Regions from separate parts of the Homo sapiens genome. Here region 2 is linked to region 1. The links are contacts of gene promoters, found by promoter capture Hi-C in human tissues and cell types (Jung and others, 2019). All regions are on one chromosome and are shown on one strand. The core of a region is centred on a gene start or on the middle of the fragment in contact, and the rest is flanking DNA. Distances in the headings are between cores, read along the strand shown. Region 1 holds the start of MYT1L (myelin transcription factor 1 like). Region 2 has its middle 190 kb from the start of MYT1L.

Region 1 (4,277 bases), core at 868-3,367:
CCTGAATAGCACTGTCTACAGAACAATGGCAGCCAACTCTAAATCCTACTATAATCACATTAATGAGATTAATCAGTGAATTAGCAGCAGTCAAATGTCAGGGAGGCAAGGAAGAATCCAACCAAGATTGGTAATTAACTTTTTGTGGGTGGGGGTGGGGAGGAGAGAAAAATCAACTGTGCTATCTCATAGGTTTTTTTAGATGTTGATAATTTTGATTCACGAATCTGAAGACTATATGTACAGATCAAAAGACAACAACATAATCCTTCATATTATAATATAGATCCAGATCTCATATTACTGATTCTTATAGTCCTCTGAGAAAGCTGATGTCACTTTAAATAATCTTCATAATCTATCAGAATTTTATTGTTTTAAATTCTTTAAATGCACAATTAATATTTAAAATAAACTTATTTCTCTGAAAATCAAGCTAAAATATAAAGAAATATGGCTGATTAAAAGCAGAAGGATTATATAACAACTGTTATTGTTTATGAAAAGTGTATGATAGTATGGTAAGAGTTTTCAAAGTGCAATCAAGTAAAGTACCATCACACACACACATCAGTAGTGGTCTATGTTAGTTAATAAAGAAAATTTATCACTCAAGTATAACTTTAAGGAGACTTTTAAGCAATTAACTTACTGCATTTGAGGTGATAGAATCATACATGTTCTTTTAGGTCAATCAGAAAAAACAAACTTCCTTTTTTTCTGGAATGTTTCTCTTAGTAGCATTTATAACTTACAATCAACACTTTGGATTCAAAGTTCTTGAGAGGTGAAAACTTATAGGAATGCAATGCTGTTTTTTTTTTTGAAAAGGAATATTTTATAAAACTCTTTTCTTTTAAAAATAATTACATTTTTATCTGTATGGGAGACATGACTTTATTATTTTTAAAGCTACATGACACTAAATGAAGATGAACAATTAGAAAGACCCTCATATGCCAGTAAGGGTGGTTTTGGGATGCTTTGGTCTATGACGTTAATTTTGTTTAGTAGAAAATATAAACATTTGAACAAAAAGGCTCTTATATAAAATAGTTTTACTCTAAGTAACTTAGAAATTATTTAGCTTATATAGCTTTGATGGTACAAGAAATTGTCATGGTTAATACTAAATTCAAAATCTGTTCTCTATATTTTATATAGCTAACTTTCATATAAATATTTACATATATATTTTTGCTTTATTCAGATCTATCTTAAAACTAAAGTGTAGAGTTTAATCTTTTAGTTTATTAATTTAGGTGTTACAAAAAGACATATTTCTGTTATAAATAACATTTTCTTTCATTATTATGAACTTCAAACATTTAAGTTAAATTTAAAAATCTTTATTTGAGTTTCTCCACTTAAACAATATAAATCAACTTTCTTCTTACCATCAGGTAAATTCATCCAAAATAGCTAACATTTTAATTGCCTTTGCATAAAATGATGTGCTTCATTTGTAATGTAAAGTAATCCAGTAAAGTCTCTGGGAAGTTTTTGTTTCAGTATCCTCTTATCCTCCAAACACCATACATGCACCCCGTTTTGTTTTTGTTTCTTTTTTTCTTAATAAACAACATCACAGTTAAGTCATGCAACCTAATACCCATTTTAGTTTAAAGACAGATTTTTTTGTGGATTACAAAGCCTCCAGTCCAGGAACATTTCAGCTACCAGCCATGCTGTAAAAATAACTTTAAAAAGGAGCAGACAATGGAATAGCAGCCTCAGCCCTTGAGCTACGGTAAAACACATCCTGCTCACTAAGTTCCCCGAAAAATTAACCTAACGAACATCACGTACCTCACAATGACCACAACCGCTCACAAGCGAAAGACAAGTTCAATTTTGGTAACTGTGCTGGCTCAAAATACACAGACAGGGAAGAAAACCCTGTTCCACCACAAGTTTGAAAGGATGATGAGACACATGCATGCCACCAAGACGCAGAAAAGGTGGCTTTTTGTCTTCAGTGAGTATGGATATCATAACCCATAGTCCAGGGAATGAAAAAATTAAAATGCACCCACCAACAATGAGCAAAAAACCCGGGGTGCTTCAACAAGACTGCAGGGAAAAGCTCTCTCACTGTTTAGTGTGCAGTAGCTTAGGGAAAAAAAAAATGTCGCCCGGGCAGGAATGACAAATGCAGCGCGATAGGCTCGCAGGCCTCAGGGATCTGTTTGACTTCCACACACCCCCATGCACACGCTCCCACTCATCCTCTCCTAGGCTTTTTTTTTTTTCCACATTTTTTTTTCACAAGCTCCAAATCCCCGGCATATGACCTTCTGTTAAATAGATAAAAAAAAAAATTGCTTATCAGTCATGCAAATGAGGCTGAATTCATTTTCCACAACAGATGGCCTCATAGATAATGATGATGGAAGAGAGAAAATTGAATGTCTCTCACAAGGTGGCCATGGCAACCGAGAGCAGAATAATATCAATAATAAACTCACTGCATAATAAGGTTGTCAGTCCTACAAATCAAAGTCTCCAGCTAAATCAGGTATACCACCCCAGCTAGTTACCAGGTAAATAGTACACACACACACACACACACACACACACACACACACTTCCACAGAGTGGCTTGAAATCTTTCATGGTCACTGTAAAATGTGTACGTGTGTGTGTCTGTTGGTGGCAAGAAGGGGTTGGGGGAGAGAATAGTTGGATAATGAAATGACAATGTGACTTTTTTCTTTTCCTTTCCTTTCATTATGTTTTCTGCAATAGACTCGGTTTCATGCAGGACCTTCTAACTAGCCATATTGAAATCGGGATGCGGTGCTGAAGGCTTTCTCTCCTCCCTCTGCCTCCGCGCTCTCGCTCTGATGTGCTGCATTGATGCAATAGCAGCTCGCCTCAGGCTTCCACCTTGGCTCCCAGGGGGACATCCTGCAAAATGAATCAGCAGCCATCCTGAGCAGGCTGATTAAAATGAAAATGGCAAGGCACATGTCTGGGCGGAACTGGAGCTCAGCTTTGCTGCTTGTCTGGCAAGCATGCTCAATATAGCTCTTGCTAATAATGGCTTACTGCCTTTCATTTTTTAAAAAGGTATCACCCTTTTCCCCCTTCACTGACTGGTGTTGTCTGTGTGTGTGTGTGTGGTGTGTGTGTGTGTGTGCACGTATGTGTGCGTGCATGTCGCGGGGGGAAACGAGAATGGATGGTTCTATTCTTCTAATTTTCTGCTGCTCACATGCAGACTGCCTGCCTGACAGCACCATTATTTTAACACTGAACTTACTTCAGCTTTTCTTTTGGGACAGGGTGGGGGGGCGGTTGATAAGTCTTGGGGCAGAAGGGCTAGTTTTAAAATCAAGCTGCCTAAAAGGCCCAGACAAGATTTTTACACTCCAGATTCAATAATTTCTAACCAAATCTGAAGCAACAGACCTCGAGAGAACTCCGATGCTCTGCTTCACAGGCTCACAGTTGGACATGCTGAAACACAGCCTATGAAGAAACCTATTTCTGTTTCGAGCATTTGCAACCAGCCTGTTACTGTATCCTAGATATTATGCAACACAGAGAATTAAAACAGAGAAAGCTACTAGCTAATAAAATAATCGAACACAATTGAAAAAATAAATCTTGGATATTTTGTTGTTTAAAATTCTCAGGCATAGCTTCAAGATTGCCCTCAAATAAGCTTTACTTTGCAGCACCTCTGCCGAGTATTCCAGGGTTTTTCAAGGCATTCTGGAAATTAGACCATTATCACCTCTCAAAAAAATGGTTGAAAAATTAGAACGAATAATTTTTCTAAACTCATTTTACTCTACTTCTCCTATACATCTTATTCTATGTTATAAACAGTCTTTAAATTTTGCTAAATTGTCAGTTTTGCTTTCCTTTGGTAACAGATGCTTGATTTTTGTATAAAACTATCTATCTACTTATTTTTGTCTTTGTAATTCCTGTTTCTGAGACGTGATTTTTTTTTCTTCTGAGCTCTAGCCCTGTTGCTGCAGTGTGAATCAGAAATCAATAGCGCTGCCCTAATGGAGACTCCACTCGGCACGCGGCAAGGCAGCTGCAGTCTCCTCTCTCTCTTTCTCTCTCTCTCTTGCACACACACACACACACACACACACGGAACTAATGACGTCTGTGCAGCTTTTTCAGCTGATTGGGCACCACATCGGATGTTCTGTGGAGCAAAGAATAGGAGTCATTTACAGTCGGCGGAAAAAAAATGGGAGCATATATCCTTCTGTGTGTAAGACACTGATCCTGAGCTCCCCAGGCAAGCAGCA
Region 2 (4,277 bases), core at 1,096-3,595, 190 kb after region 1:
CCACTGAGAATAAGAAAACTATTTTATTAGTTTACTCGAATCCCCAATGAATGAGTGAATTAATGAATTTACAGAGCTTCGGTAAGGGACAGTGGTGTGACAAAGATACAGATGGGTCAACGTCCCTTTAGAATCCTAAGCCCTGAGGGCCTAGAGCCACGCTCATTCCTCATGAAAAGTCCTCCTGTCATAGGAGAATAAAATACATGATGTTATGCTGGCCTCCTTAGCCTTTCTAGTTCCACAGAAACTTGCTTTCTCCTGCACCTCTTTATTTTAAACTTTTTAAATATAATTATTCATTTGAACTGTGTTGCAGTCACTTATGTACACCTCCTGCCCTCAGTGCCTCACCCACCTCCTTAGATTGAGATTCCTGAGCTCTAAGTTTACAAACCCGTTACTGTTTCTAAGGAGCCCCATCCACACACACACACGCTTGCAGATGCACTGCACACACACACACACATACACGCACGGCTCCTAACATGCAGGGTAACACATAGCAGGTGTCTTATGCATGTTTGTGGATTGGAAGATAGATTTCTACCCCTAAAGAAGCAAGTTGTCATCTGAAAAGTTACTATTTATAGCAGGAACAGAAGAGAAGGGAGCCTGCTGGATGTGATCCATGAACTGAGCGTGGAAGGGAGTAGGGAGGTGCAGACGACAGAGAGAGGGAAAGGGGAGGAGGGAGATTTTCTAGGGGTTGCAGACATGAAGAAAAAAAGACCATGCTGTGGAATCTTGATTTATGGCAAAATGCAATTTTAAAAGATAAATGCACAGGCTGAAGTCAGGAAAGCAGGGCTGCCATTCCAGGTTACATAAGAGAAAAATGAGTACTGGCATTCCCTGTCAGGTCAGGCTGCACCTACCTTGCATACTCTCCCTATCCCTCCTGGAGTCTGTCTCTCTTTCTCTTTCTCTGTCTCACACACACACATGCACACATGCACACACAGGCACACACATGCACACACATGCCTTCCCTGCTCCCACTGCAAGCACTCTCACAGCTCTGCTCTCTGCATCCCTCCTGGCCCTGGCTCTGCAGTGGGTGCAGGAGGGAGATTTATAGCTGCTGCATCTCTGCTCCTGCCTCCCAGACACAGGATCATCCCACGCAAAGCTTCTTTATATGGGGTTGTTAGCTCTGCTCTGCTGACTTGGGAGGGTACATATTTTTAATCTTGATTATTTTAATGCCATACTTCATCCTTGGGCTTCTGGCTGCAACCTCATTCGGATCTCAGAACACCAACAGCAGTAAAGCCACTGCCATTTGTCACCCCACACTGATTGCCTGGGATCCTGAAATGAGAAAGTGTGGGAGGGAACACATCTTGAAGCTGCTCCGTCTCAGCCCCACGGACGGTCTCTGAATGCAGGGACACTGGCACACCCCGGCCTCTGGCTGAACAGTGCACCTTGGATATGGCATCGTGGGCTTTAACTAAAGGGAAAAGGCTGTACCTGAGCTGGGAGCAGCATCAATGGGTAGGATCAGAATGTGCTTAAATGCTTCTCTTCTCTGAGAGAACCAGACACATGGAGAGAACCAGACACATCATTGGCAAAGAGCCAATGATGGAACGGAGGGAGGCCCCACGGCAGCTGCAGCTCTGTGAGTCCATTGGAACTGGGCAACCATTGTGTCTTGTGGCCCTCACGGCCGTGTGTCACCAGACCAGAGAAGGCCGTCACAGGCACCTTCTTCAGGGCCACTCCATGTCCTGTCTCTAGTTGCGGTCTCCCTGCTCCTGCTGGGTCTCATTTTCCTCTCACCTCTAACTCCTCTGTGATGTGAAGGGTGAGAAGGCATAAGGAAAGGAGGATTTAGAGAGCTTAAGCTTGCAGAAGGAAGTGCTTCATCCGTAGCTTTGCAACCTTAACACATTGGGTGCCTTCCTGGAGCATGCTGGTGCCATCAGCCCTCTGTATCCTACCACCATGTTGTGAATCAGATTTGCAAAGACATCGTTTGCCCCATTTTGGACATGAGAAAAAAAACCCAGAGAAATTCCATGGTTCCCCTTGTCACACACTAGAGGGTTGGCAGCTAAGGTGTTTCACCTCAACACTCCCGTGTTCCTTGGCACCCCAGCCCAGCCAGGGTGTCAGGCCAGGAAAGAAACCCCAGGACCCACCACTCACAGTCTAGTGACATTGACCCATGGGACAGGGATTTCCCTTTTGGAGAACACAAAGGTGAAGGTGTGTGTATAGTGTGACACTGATGCAGCAATAGGAAACGTGTGCTGCTCGCCCCAAATTCCGCAGTCTCATAACAGATAAGAAGACGGCCCATTGCTGACCTGGTTATGTAGGACAGAGCCTAGTTCCAGGGGCGACGGAAGCTGCTCTGTTTGGATTGATTTTCTGAATTCAAGCAGAGCTCTACTCCTGCCAAAACCTTCCCCATCAGCTTCCCTAATTAAAATTAATTTTCATTCATCCATTAGAATTAAATTTTTAAAACACAGAGACTACTGGCTAGAAGTGAACCCAGGAAAGCGAATCCATACTCCTATGCATGACTCAGAGCTCAACCTTCCCAAAAACAGTTTCTGTAAGGAAGGAGGAGGGTATCTGAAACCAGCATCCAGACATGCAGTACCATTTTGCATCTCACCATGGTACTGGGGGCAGAAGTGATTTTTATCACAACCCAAGTCGAAACACATGCTCCTAAATATTGTTCTGGACATTTTGGTTTTGCTTTACTGTTTCAGTTTGTAATTAAAGAGGGTTCTTCTATTAATGACTTTTACATATTAACCTTCTCATTAGTCCATGACAGCATCTATTAGACCTCTCGAGATTAGATATCTTCAGAAGGCAGCTTGATATACACAGGTTCACCAAGGGGCCACGCCTGCTGAGAAATTCCAAATCCTGCCTGGTAACAGAATACTGCAGGTGGTGGTGCACAGTGATTTTCTAAGCCATTGGTAAAGCCTTTTCAGATGGTATGAAACCTTCTTCATGCAACCTGAAAATCTGACTGGGTAGTTTCATGTTTTAAATTTCCTAATGAGGATTCATTGGTATTAATTTTTGTTTTAATTTTTCTAGGCTAGTAATATAACTAGGATGTAGAGAAAATTTTTAAAGTTTTAAAAATGTAGCCTCCTAACAATTAATCAATTGATGGACCTTTTGCAAACGTGTGATCAGGACAAGTCCTGGGGGTGTAGGAGGCTGTGTGTCCTCACAATGTGCCCTCTCCTGTGGCTCCCATGTGGAGCTGCCGTAAACTTCTAGCAGGGCACCAAAGATGTCTTATTGCTAAATCAAAGGCCTTTTGTTGGCCCTCATTCTTTTGGTTCTTGACATCTTCTCTGCATCACTTTTTACCGTGTTCCCTCCTGGAAAACCTGTCTTTTTTGGCTTTCAGGGCCTTATGCTACCTTAATTTTCATCTTACATTTTTAATGGCTGGTTTGCTCCTTGGATGATGGGTCTTTATCCCCTGTTTGCTAAGTGTGGGCACTGGCCCAGGGGCAGCTCTTGGTTCTGTGTGCTTCATTTCCTATACACTACCCACTCAGTTGTCCCTTCCTGTTCCTGCCTTTGCAAAATGAGAAGAGAAGCCTCCGCAGCCTTGCACGGCCTTCCCCTGACCTCCCAGCTCCTCCACTGCTCTCCACCCAGAGCCCATCCTCCCACCTGATGGAGCAGGCCTTGAGCAAAACAGCAAAGCCAGTCTCCCTTCCAGATTTTCCTGTTCCTCATCCTACCTGTGTGCTGGGCACAGATCATTAAAAATAAATAATCACAGTATTTAATGCTGTCAACACTGGAGCCATCAGAAATACCATTTGCGGTATACAAAATGTTCTCATGCATATCACCTCATTTGATTTTGGGAGGCAGAGGGCTGATCATGTTTCTGTTTTACAAATGAGAACATTAATGCCAAAAGAGGTAAGAATCTTGGCCAAGGACAGAGATATAATAAGTGATTGATTAGAAATTAAAACATAGCTCCTCTCCCCTCAAGCTTCGTGCCCCTTCTAGAATTCCCTATAAGATCAGAGGAGGGTTCTATGACAGATCCCCTCTGGCTCACCGAGCCCTCTTCCCCAGCTCCTCTGAAAAGGTTATGTCTAGGATTCCTAAGGTAAGTGTTAGTAATGAAGTGTATGACTTAGCCCATTGTATCATGGGTGACTCAGCTGCAGCAGTGCCTGACATCACCAACCCTAGTCAGCAAGAGGTCATTTCCTGCATGTCAGCTGAAACACTCATTCCTAATGAGGTAATGACGTGAC

What was found. The method cuts DNA at HindIII sites, captures the fragments that hold promoters and counts their contacts. A contact is called where the count stands out against the background at its distance.
Region 2: a fragment that was not itself captured here is called in contact with the fragment with the promoter of MYT1L in region 1 in 4 of the 25 tissues and cell types used here (dorsolateral prefrontal cortex, hippocampus, mesendoderm cells and 1 more).

What each region holds. Positions count from the first base shown.
Region 1 is chr2:2,329,158-2,333,434 of GRCh38, forward strand. It overlaps MYT1L (myelin transcription factor 1 like), which reads right to left and starts at 2,118. Exons shown (of 25, transcript NM_001303052.2): 1 at 1,810-2,118. The HindIII fragment of the contact is 11,173 bases long and covers 1-4,277 here.
Region 2 is chr2:2,523,134-2,527,410 of GRCh38, forward strand. No RefSeq gene overlaps it. Among named protein-coding and RNA genes, the nearest start is that of MYT1L, 190 kb to the left of the region's middle. RefSeq lists an enhancer at 3,697-4,277. The HindIII fragment of the contact is 4,219 bases long and covers 237-4,277 here.